Linked DNA regions of Homo sapiens: region 1 is linked to region 2. The links are contacts of gene promoters, found by promoter capture Hi-C in human tissues and cell types (Jung and others, 2019). All regions are on one chromosome and are shown on one strand. Each heading gives the region's core, a stretch centred on a gene start or on the middle of the fragment in contact. The rest is flanking DNA. Distances are from core to core; before and after follow the strand shown.

Region 1 (4,306 bases), core at 902-3,401, 1.2 Mb before region 2:
TCACTCTCGCAAGCTTTGGATGTGCGGCCTCTGCTTGCTCTCCTCTGGGTGGTCTTCATGTGTTTCTACAGCGCTGCTGTTCCAAGGGTATCCCTTAGGCCTCCAGTGCAGGGACCATGCATGCTGGAGAAGTCCTTGCTTCTAGAGAGTGAAGAGTCTCCAGTATCCAGATCAAGGAAGGCTGGGACCACTGCTGAGGGACGAACTCAGAAGGCAAGTTTAAGACTTAAAGAGAAGGTGCAAGGTGTCCTTCCCCTATTGTCTGGCCCAGAATTTCAGAGTGTCAGGAAACAAGCTCAAGATTATTCCTTCAAGGCCAAGTGCAGTCGCTCACGCCTGTAATCCCAGCACAGCACTTTGGGAGGCCGAGGCAGGTGGATCACTTGAGGTCAGGAGTTCAAGACCAGTCTGGCCAACATAGTGAAACCCCATCTCTACTAAAAATAATAAAAAAAAAAATAACCAAGAATTGTGGCATGTGCCTGTGGTCCTTGCTACTCAGGAGGCTGAGGCATGAGAATTGTTTGAACCTGGAAGGCAGAGGTTACAGTGCAGTGAGCCAAGATAACGCCACTGCAACTCCAGCCTGGGTGTCAGAGCAAGACTCTGTCTCAAAAAAAACAAATGAATATTTCTTCTACTGGGGTCAGGGAGGACTAATGACGTGGGCCAGCACTGTGAAGAAAGCCCACCATGTTCTGCATCTTTATCCCAGTGCAGAAGCAGAGTGATGTGGGCAGAAGAGAGAGCAGCAACTCCAGGTTGGGCATCCCTCACAGGAGGGTCAGCACCTCCAGGTTGGGCATTCCGCACAGGAGGATCAGTTACACTGTCAGGTGGGGGAAGGGCTGGTCAGCTGGGACCTCAGGGAGGGGTGGAGACATCATCTCGGGATGGAAAATGAGACCAGGCACAGATCACCGAGCAGTGGGAGGCAGCCCGGCATTCCTTTGCCAACTTCTTTTTCCAAGGGGATGATGATACTCTACATACTGAAGTCATTTTCTCAGAATTTAATCTGGACCACAGAGTCTCCCGGAAGTGACTTGGTCAGTGTCCAGGGAGCCGGGGAGAAATGGAACGGGAAGATGTTTAAAAAGTAGCAGCCAGGTGTTTGCAGGAACAGGACCCAGGAGCAACAGAGCAGGTGCAGAACTCTGGCTGCAGGCATGTATTTGTCTCACCTCCTGTCCCTTAGCTTTCCCCAGGCCCACACCCTGGAGAGTTCATAGCCCCCCTCCACCCCAACCATTCGGTGCGTTTTGATCTCAACTCCCTGGAGAGAGACTCACTGTGGCTATAGTGGAGAAAAGGTGGAGAACTGACAGTGGAGAACTGACAGCTGGAGAACAGGCTGTGGCTATAGTGCCAAGACTCAGCAGATTTAGGAACTTCTTGAGTGACAATTGAACTTGCCCAGAGGGCATGTGCATGTTAACAAGGGTGGAAGACAATGCCCTGAGCCAAATAAAAGAATTGTAAGCAGTCTGAGTTCAGGTCTTATGGGATGAGAGGGTTTTGTTGTGCAGCACTTTACAATGCTCAGATCACACTGGTTATTCACCAACAGCTCTACCTGTCAAGAGGGCAGAAGGCCGGCGCTCACTGACTACTTGCTCTGTGGGTGGCACAGTGCTAAGCTTTTAAACATATATGATTAGCAAGATTTATCTTATTCAAACTTTACAACAGTCTTCTGAGGTAAATCTTAAGGAATCCCGATATTCAGATGAGAAGCAAGCATTGGTGGTTAAGTGACTTTCCTGGAGTCACCGGGCCATAGTGGAACTGGAATTGGGCCCCAGGTCTGGCTTCCAGGGCGCCCATGCTTTCTCCTTTCTAAGCTTGCTGCAAAACTTCCTGAACTCAGAGATGCAGACCAGAAATGCAAGTTCTGGAGGCTCCACCCCTGGGGCTCTGATTCCAGTCGGGGAGTGATGAGCACCAGCCAGTTGCCTCCAGGCGGCTGCTTAGGTCCAGCTCCTGGAAGCAGAAGCGGGCTCAGGTGGAAACAGGTGAGGAGACTTACCGGCGAGAGTTCTCAGGGCCATCACCTAGGGCGAGGATAGGACGCAGGTCAGGCTGTAAGTCACGGCAAGGCCTCAGTGGCGATTAATGGAAGCTCTGAAGCTGAGGCCACCCTTCAGAATTGGCCTGAGTTGAAAGGAGGGAGCCGGAGCTCTATACAGCTCCTTGAGCAACCACTGGGTTGAGTCGCCCTGGAAGGTGGGAGATAAGACGCACAGCCAGGTAGCTCTCTTCAGCGGAGGCGGTCCCAAAAGGGGCTAAGGGTGGAGAACTGTTAGCCACCCGCCTCCCGGCAGCTGGTGAAATACACCCTTGCATGCTGACCCTTTAATGATGAAGAGCCATTAATGCTGTGGATACACAGCGTTCACAACAGGAGCTCTGTATAAAATCCACAGAAACCATGTCTGAAGTCACGGGAGTCCCGCCGAACAACCGTTCACAGATCCACCTTCATGGTTCTCACCGGTGGTTTATGAGTGCCAGTAGGGGGCAGCAAAGAGCTTCTCAGGTGCTGTTACCCTACTGTACTGAGTTGCTGGAGCAAGAGCCTGGAGCAAGCACCACCTGGGAAGGAATTGCTGGGTGCCAGAAATGCAAGCGAGCCCAAGACTCCACCATCATTAGCAAAATCTGACAGTAAATAGGTAGGTAGGACGCAGATCACAAGGAACGTATGTCATGCAAAGAAGCTGGGTGTTACTCTAGAGCTGATGGGAAGCCCCTGAGTGGTTTTCAGCCTGGGAAGTGATGCATTTGATGTGTTTTAGGAAGCTTGTTCTGTCTTCAGGGAGGATGCAGGCAATGGGAATGCAGAGGGTGCCTTATTAGGGGGTGCCATTTCTTTGCAGCCATGCAACAAATTACTTAACCTCACTATCCAGGCCTGAAAAATTGCGAGGAGGTAACAGTGTCCACATTACAGAGCTCCCATGCCAATTAAGAGGAATAAGCTATATAAAATGCTTAGCACAATTCTTGATAAATAATGCCTACTCACTAAACCTTGTTAGAGTGATTATTTTCATTATATTTAAAGATTTAATCAAGAGACTGTGGTTACAGATTGGATGTAAGGAGAGGAGGATGGCAAGGCCATTCATGGACACCAGACATGAAAGCGGAGGTTTGCAGGGAGAGGAGGAACCCCAGGAGGCAGACAAGTCTGGGGCCCCCTGCCTGAGTGAGGATGGAGATATTGGGATCTGAGAATCAACAGTGTAGTGGAAGAAACTATACCAAGAGGGATGCATGAGGTCCCCCCAGGAAATAACCAGACAAAAGAGTAAGCATGCACTCCAAACAGCTTCAGAATGGAAAAGGACTGAAGAAGAAATTGCAGGCGATGCTGACATTTTAAGGGTGTTAAGGCATGAGAGGAGCAGCCCCTGGTGGAGAATATAAAGGAGGCCAGGCAGGTATAGGAACAACAGGGGAGAGCAACAACCCAGATGCCAGGAGAGCTGGGTTTTCAAGGAGAAAGTAGCTGGCAAAGAGTCCAGTGCAGCACAGATGTCAGGCAAGATGGGTCTGGGGAGGGGAAGGAATGGACAGCTTTTCTAGAACAACACTAGTGAGGGCAGAGGGCCAACCACAGTGAGCCGAGGAGCTCAAGCTGGAGAGGCAGCAGACAGTCATATGTGGGTGGTAAGGTGGGCAGCCTACAGGTTTTATTAAGTAGGCAGTGTAGAAGGACAAACATGGATAAATCGAGATATGTGATTGATAGATAGATGATAGATAGATGATGATAGATAGATAGATAGATGATAGATAGATAGATAGATAGATAGATAGATAGATAGATAGATAGATAGATCAGACTACAGCTTAAGTCCCACTTGTCAACTCTGTCTTCTAAGCACTTACCTATATTATCTCATTTAATAATTTGGGATGTGTATTGTTATCCCTGTTTTAAAAACAAGGAGAGTCTGGGTGCAGAGAGATTACAGGAGTTGCCCAAGATTACCCACTAGGAAGCGGTAGACCCAGGCATCAAATCCAGGCAGTCTGACTCCCTTTTAAGATATCTGAAGGCTTTATCTTAGGTATCATTATTTAGTGATGGCATGTAGGGAGGACTGGTGGTGAGTAACCTAGAGATGGGGGATGAGAAGGAGTGAAGGGACTGAAGAAAGAGGTAAAGGCCAGAATTTGAAGTGGTCCCAAGAGCAAAGTAGATGTTACTCAAGAACAAGGCAGCCTGGGGTGATTGAGTGTGTTTATTCTGCCTGGCTAAGTGTTGTAGAAAATTGTAATGGAATAAATAAAATAT
Region 2 (4,728 bases), core at 220-2,719:
CAGGGGTTGAAAAGTTGGTCAGACTCCGCCTTGTTGAAGCTTTCTAAATGACATCAGAAAAAAGACGCGACATTCGCAAGGCACAGAGCCAACAGCTCCAGCAGTGGGGGCCACCATCAACGGACCAAGGTGGGCCAGGGGGCCTTCCGGACCCCACAATTTGGGGCCGGTCTGCAGCAACGAGGGCAGCATCGGGAATGCGAGCCTCCTCGCCCGGCCGGGTAAACATAAGCCCAGAGCCCGGCGGGGCCTGCGCCGCCTGCGGCCCGGCTGGGGCCCAGCGGACAAAGGGGAGCAGGCGGTGCCCCGTCCCAGCGGCCAGGCCGGCCGAGAGAGCCAGGAGCCACGTGCCCGGTGGGAGCACGCCAAAAGCAGGAGAACACCTGACCGTTTTTTTGGCCCACCAAGGAGACCGCCTTCTACTCTGCATTTAAAAAGAAAAACAACGCGTTACCGCTTTAAGTTTTTTAGAACTTTTCCAGAGAAAGGCCGACTAGCAACAAGGGGTGCTACAGGAATCCACCTCGCCTCACCTCTCCTAGGAAATTGTAAAAGGAATTAGCACTTGAATGGGGAGGCCGGCGTGTCTGGAATGAGAACGAGCCGCGCACGCAGTTTGAGGGTTCCGGGGAGCCGCGTCCTCCCCTTTCCAGGCGACAGCCCTAACTACAGGAATTGGCCAAAATTCAGCATTTCCAGACTTTCCTTGGGAAAAGGGGCCGAAGAAGTGCCGGCAACAAGAAGGGCCACAACGGAGCGCGCCACAGACTCACCGCGGCTGGGGTCGGGACCGGCGCAGCCCCCTCCCCTCCCGCCCGTGCGCGCCCCGAGCCGGGCGCCCCGACCCGGCCTCCACCCGCTCAGGCGCTCAGGGTCAGGCCGGGCCGGGCTGCGGCGCCCCCATCCCCGCCCGGGCAGCGAGGCCGGGCCAAGCGGGGCGCTCCGGGCCTCGGGCCTACACGCGGCGGCCGCCTCGGCCCCGGCCCCAGCCCGCGGGCCCCGGGCGGGGGATGCGAGGACGCTGGGACGCGGGCCCGAGGCGCGGGAGGGGCCCAGGCCGCGCGGGGCGCCCCGACGACTCGCGGGGGCCGAGGAGGCCGGGGCTGCGCGTCCAACGCGGGGCCGAGAAAACGGCCGGCTCGGCCCCGCCGCCGCCGCTCCTCGAGCCCCCAAGCGCGGCCCCGGCTCGCCCGCCCCCGGCCCCCGCCGCCCCGACCCCGCGGCCCCCCGATCCCCGGCCCCTGCCGCCCGCGCCGGGCCCGCCAACCACGGGCAGGAGCGCGCGAACGGCCGGGCGGGCGCCCCGAGCGCCAGGACTCACCGGGGCCGGCTCCCGAGTACATGGTGGCGCCGCCGAGGGGCTCCGGGGCCGAGGGGCGGCCGCGCGCGCGCCACGGGCCCCGACGCCGCGAGCCGCGAGGGAGCCGCCGGCCGCACGATCCGCCCCGGCGCGGCCGCCTCGCCAAACAGGTTTACCCGACGCGGCCGGGGCGGCGGGCGGAGGCGGCGGCGGGAGCGGGAGCGGGAGGGGCGGGGGAGGAAGGAGGAGGGAGGGGGAGGGGAGGCGAGGCCGGCGGCGGGAGCGCGCTCGCGGGGGGAGCGGGGCTGGGCGCGCGGGCGGGGTCCGCGGCGGCGGCGGCGGCGGCGCCGGGTCTGGCGGGGCCTGGGGCGGGGACCCGGGGAGGGGCCCGGAGACCTCGCCGGGCGGTGGGAACCGCGGGCGGGAGCGGGGACGAGGGCCGAGGGCGGCGCGGCCCGTGTGGCGCGGGGGCGGGCGCGGCCCCGGGGACCCTTCACTGCCACCCAGAGAAGCCGCGTCTTCCCGACGGGGAGGAGCCGGGCCCCCCGGCTGTGCCGCCGGAGCCGGAGGGGAGGCCACGCGCCCCCGCTTTCCCCGCCGCCCCCCGGTGGGGGGCGCAGAACCCTCCCACCCTCAGCCCCTCGGCCCCCAGCCTGGCTCTTTAAGTTACTACAGAAACACGGAGGTCGGGAAGCTCCCTCCCAGCCCGGAGCTTGAACTTGAACGCGGCCGGCCGCTCGCGCAGGACCACACCGCCACCTCCCGGCGCGGCCCCAGAACCCAGATAATCCGTTTAAAGCACTGAGAAAATCTAAGAAGTTTTTAGTAAACTGTAGCTGGTATCAGGGATCAGATCAGCGGACACGCCCATTCCAGCAGTCAGGGGCCTGCTCGGACCGTCGTGCACCTCCGAGCGTTTCTGTCCGGTCCCTCTGGGTCCGTCTGGTTTTCGGAGGCTTTCCTGGAAAAGCCAGCCTGTGGCTACCTCCTTTCTCCCCTAAGTGATGGAGGATTAGAAGGCAGAGGTTGACCCACAATCTAAAGTGCCTGGTCGCCTTTTCCCAGATTTCCCGGAGCATTCCTTCACCCCGTGGCATCGGCTGTCTGCATATGGGTGCAAGGCCCTGTTCCGGGCGGAGAATAAACAGGAGTTCTGACTGACAGGAGCTCCGCAGCCAGCAGGGTGGTCACTAGTTCTCTGCAGTCTCGGAGGACAGCCCTGAAGAAGGGCAGGAGAACCAGCACTTCCTCCGAAAACTCAAAAGGACATCAGTCTTCACCAAGTTGCCGATACAAAACGTGCTCCTGAAATGTGTAGTAATGAACACCAGGAAACCTGGGTAGGAGTGTGCATGGCATTCTTCATCACCGCTTGGACTGCATGGCACTGAATACCCACGGAGAGCAGGATGGAGAAACAGTGTGCTCATATTCACAGGATGGAATCTAGCCATTCACAAAAATTCCAAAACAGGCAAAATTAAACTGCATTCTTTAGGGAAGCATCATTAAGTAGTAAATAATTGACAGAAGGGCAAGAAGGTGCTTACTCTAAGTGTCAGAATGGTGGATACAGCTGGGGGTGAGAGGGCTGTGACCACAGCAGGGCCCCTGGGGGATTTGGGGGTGCCAGGCCTGTTCCTTCCTGCAATGGTGCCCTTTGGCAGCCATCCCTTAAACTGCACTTTTACTTTATATGCTTTTCTGTACCTTTACTGTAGTATTTCACGGAAATTTTTAAATAATCATGAATGTTACCACTTTCCTATTTATGAACCATGCAACCTCATCAATCTTCCCAGTTCGCAGATGCCCACCCTCTCTCTCTGCCCCTGTCTCCTTCACATATCCCCAAAACTCGTTTTGGCCCGAAATCCCTGAGGCCCAACTGCCCTGCTGTCAGCGACTGCACGCCTCAGCAAAGGCCCAGAAGGCTCTGTCATCACTGGCTGCCCTCAGCCCGCCTTCAGCTCCTTTGAGCGCTGTGTTGGGGAACTTTGTTGCAAGGATTTCGTTCCAGAAGGCAAGATAATGTCTCTGAGGGCTTCATTGTGTCACTTCTCTTTGGATGGCGGACACCGTGGCCCTCTGCTGGCGGAGGGGTGCCATTGCTGCCTGCCCCATCTCTATCCCCAGGGCCCATGCAGTCACTGGGTTCGCCCTCTGGGGCACGGGGTTCCCTCTGCTCTTTTCCTAGATAAGCCCATTCTCTGCAGGTCTCTACCCTCCACACCTGTGTTCAGGAATTCAGCCCGCTTCCTGCAGCCCCATCCCTACCCTCCTCCCAACCTGCTTTTCTTCTGGTGTCCCTCACTCAGCATGGCTAACAGATCCACCACCCAACGGAGCTGAGAACTGCAGTCCCCTCTGCCTGTTACCTCTCCTGCCATTAGTGAACCTGCTTAACTCATCTGACTGTGCGTCTCGGTGCTTGCTGTGACATGTCTCCAGCCCTTGCTGCTCTGTCCCCCAGACCCACGTCCCACACCCGGATGGTGACTCAGCCGACTCTGGGTCTTCTGGACCCAGTGCTTCTCCCTGATACAATTCCTTCCTCTGTGTTTTAGGATCCTGATGCTTTGATAAGACCGTGGGCTCTAATCACAGCCAGGGACATTTGCAGCAGCCTGGCCTGCAGCTCTGCACACTGGGTGCACTCAGTCTAAAGCACCAGCTCCCCATGAGAGAGAAAGAAGGGGTGAGGGGAAGTACAGAGAAAGCTCCTGAGGCCACAGGGCTGACAAAGCCCTCGGCTTTGGGGGCACTTTGTTTCTTCAAGACTAAAATGCAGGCAATGGAATAAATCATTTGTTCCTAAAACATGTTCTGCACATGATTAAAGCAGCTTTGGGAAGTCAAGTAAATTGGGAAGCACTGGATCAAACAATGATAAATAAGTTTATTGTCTGCAGGCCTTCTCAGAGCCTGTAGCAAGGTGAGAAGAATCATGCTTCTACAAAGAGGAAGGAGGGCATGAGACAGTATGCAACCTGTCCCAAACCCATTTAGCCACAGAACCCTTTTTTCACGAGGTACCTCAAGGTTCCGTGGAGCATAATTTAGGAAACACAGAGGTAGAGGTCTTCTATGATCCCTTCCAGCTCTAATAGTCTATGATTCTTTGAGTAATATATACTTTGAGACAGGATCACCAAAGTGAAAGTGTAGTGGCGAAAACACAGCTCATTGCAGCCTTGACTTCCCAGGCTCAAGTGATCCTCCCACCTCAGCCTCCTGAGCAGCTGGGACCACAGGTGCATGCCACCATGCCTGGCTAATTTTTAAAAACTTTTGTAGAGACAGGTCTCACTGTGTTGCTCAGGTTGGTCTTGAACTGCTTGGCCCAAGTGATCCTCCCACCTTGGCCTCCTCAAAGTGCTGGGATTACAGGCATGAGCCACTACACCTGACCTTATTTTTTTTGTTTT

What was found. The method cuts DNA at HindIII sites, captures the fragments that hold promoters and counts their contacts. A contact is called where the count stands out against the background at its distance.
Region 1: a contact is called between a fragment that was not itself captured here and the fragment with the promoter of AGO2 in region 2, in 1 of the 25 tissues and cell types used here (lymphoblastoid cells).

The regions. Positions count from the first base shown.
Region 1 is chr8:139,403,424-139,407,729 of GRCh38, forward strand. No RefSeq gene overlaps it. Among named protein-coding and RNA genes, the nearest start is that of KCNK9, 300 kb to the right of the region's middle. RefSeq lists an enhancer at 1,228-1,876 and a silencer at 2,496-2,605. The HindIII fragment of the contact is 4,778 bases long and covers 1-4,306 here.
Region 2 is chr8:140,634,164-140,638,891 of GRCh38, forward strand. It overlaps AGO2 (argonaute RISC catalytic component 2), which reads right to left and starts at 1,470. Exons shown (of 19, transcript NM_012154.5): 1 at 1,322-1,470. The coding sequence starts at 1,343. ERICD (E2F1-regulated inhibitor of cell death) reads left to right here and starts at 72. Exons shown (of 1, transcript NR_170171.1): 1 at 72-4,120. RefSeq lists an enhancer at 1-475 and silencers at 282-331, 815-984, 1,635-2,034. The HindIII fragment of the contact is 25,430 bases long and covers 1-4,728 here.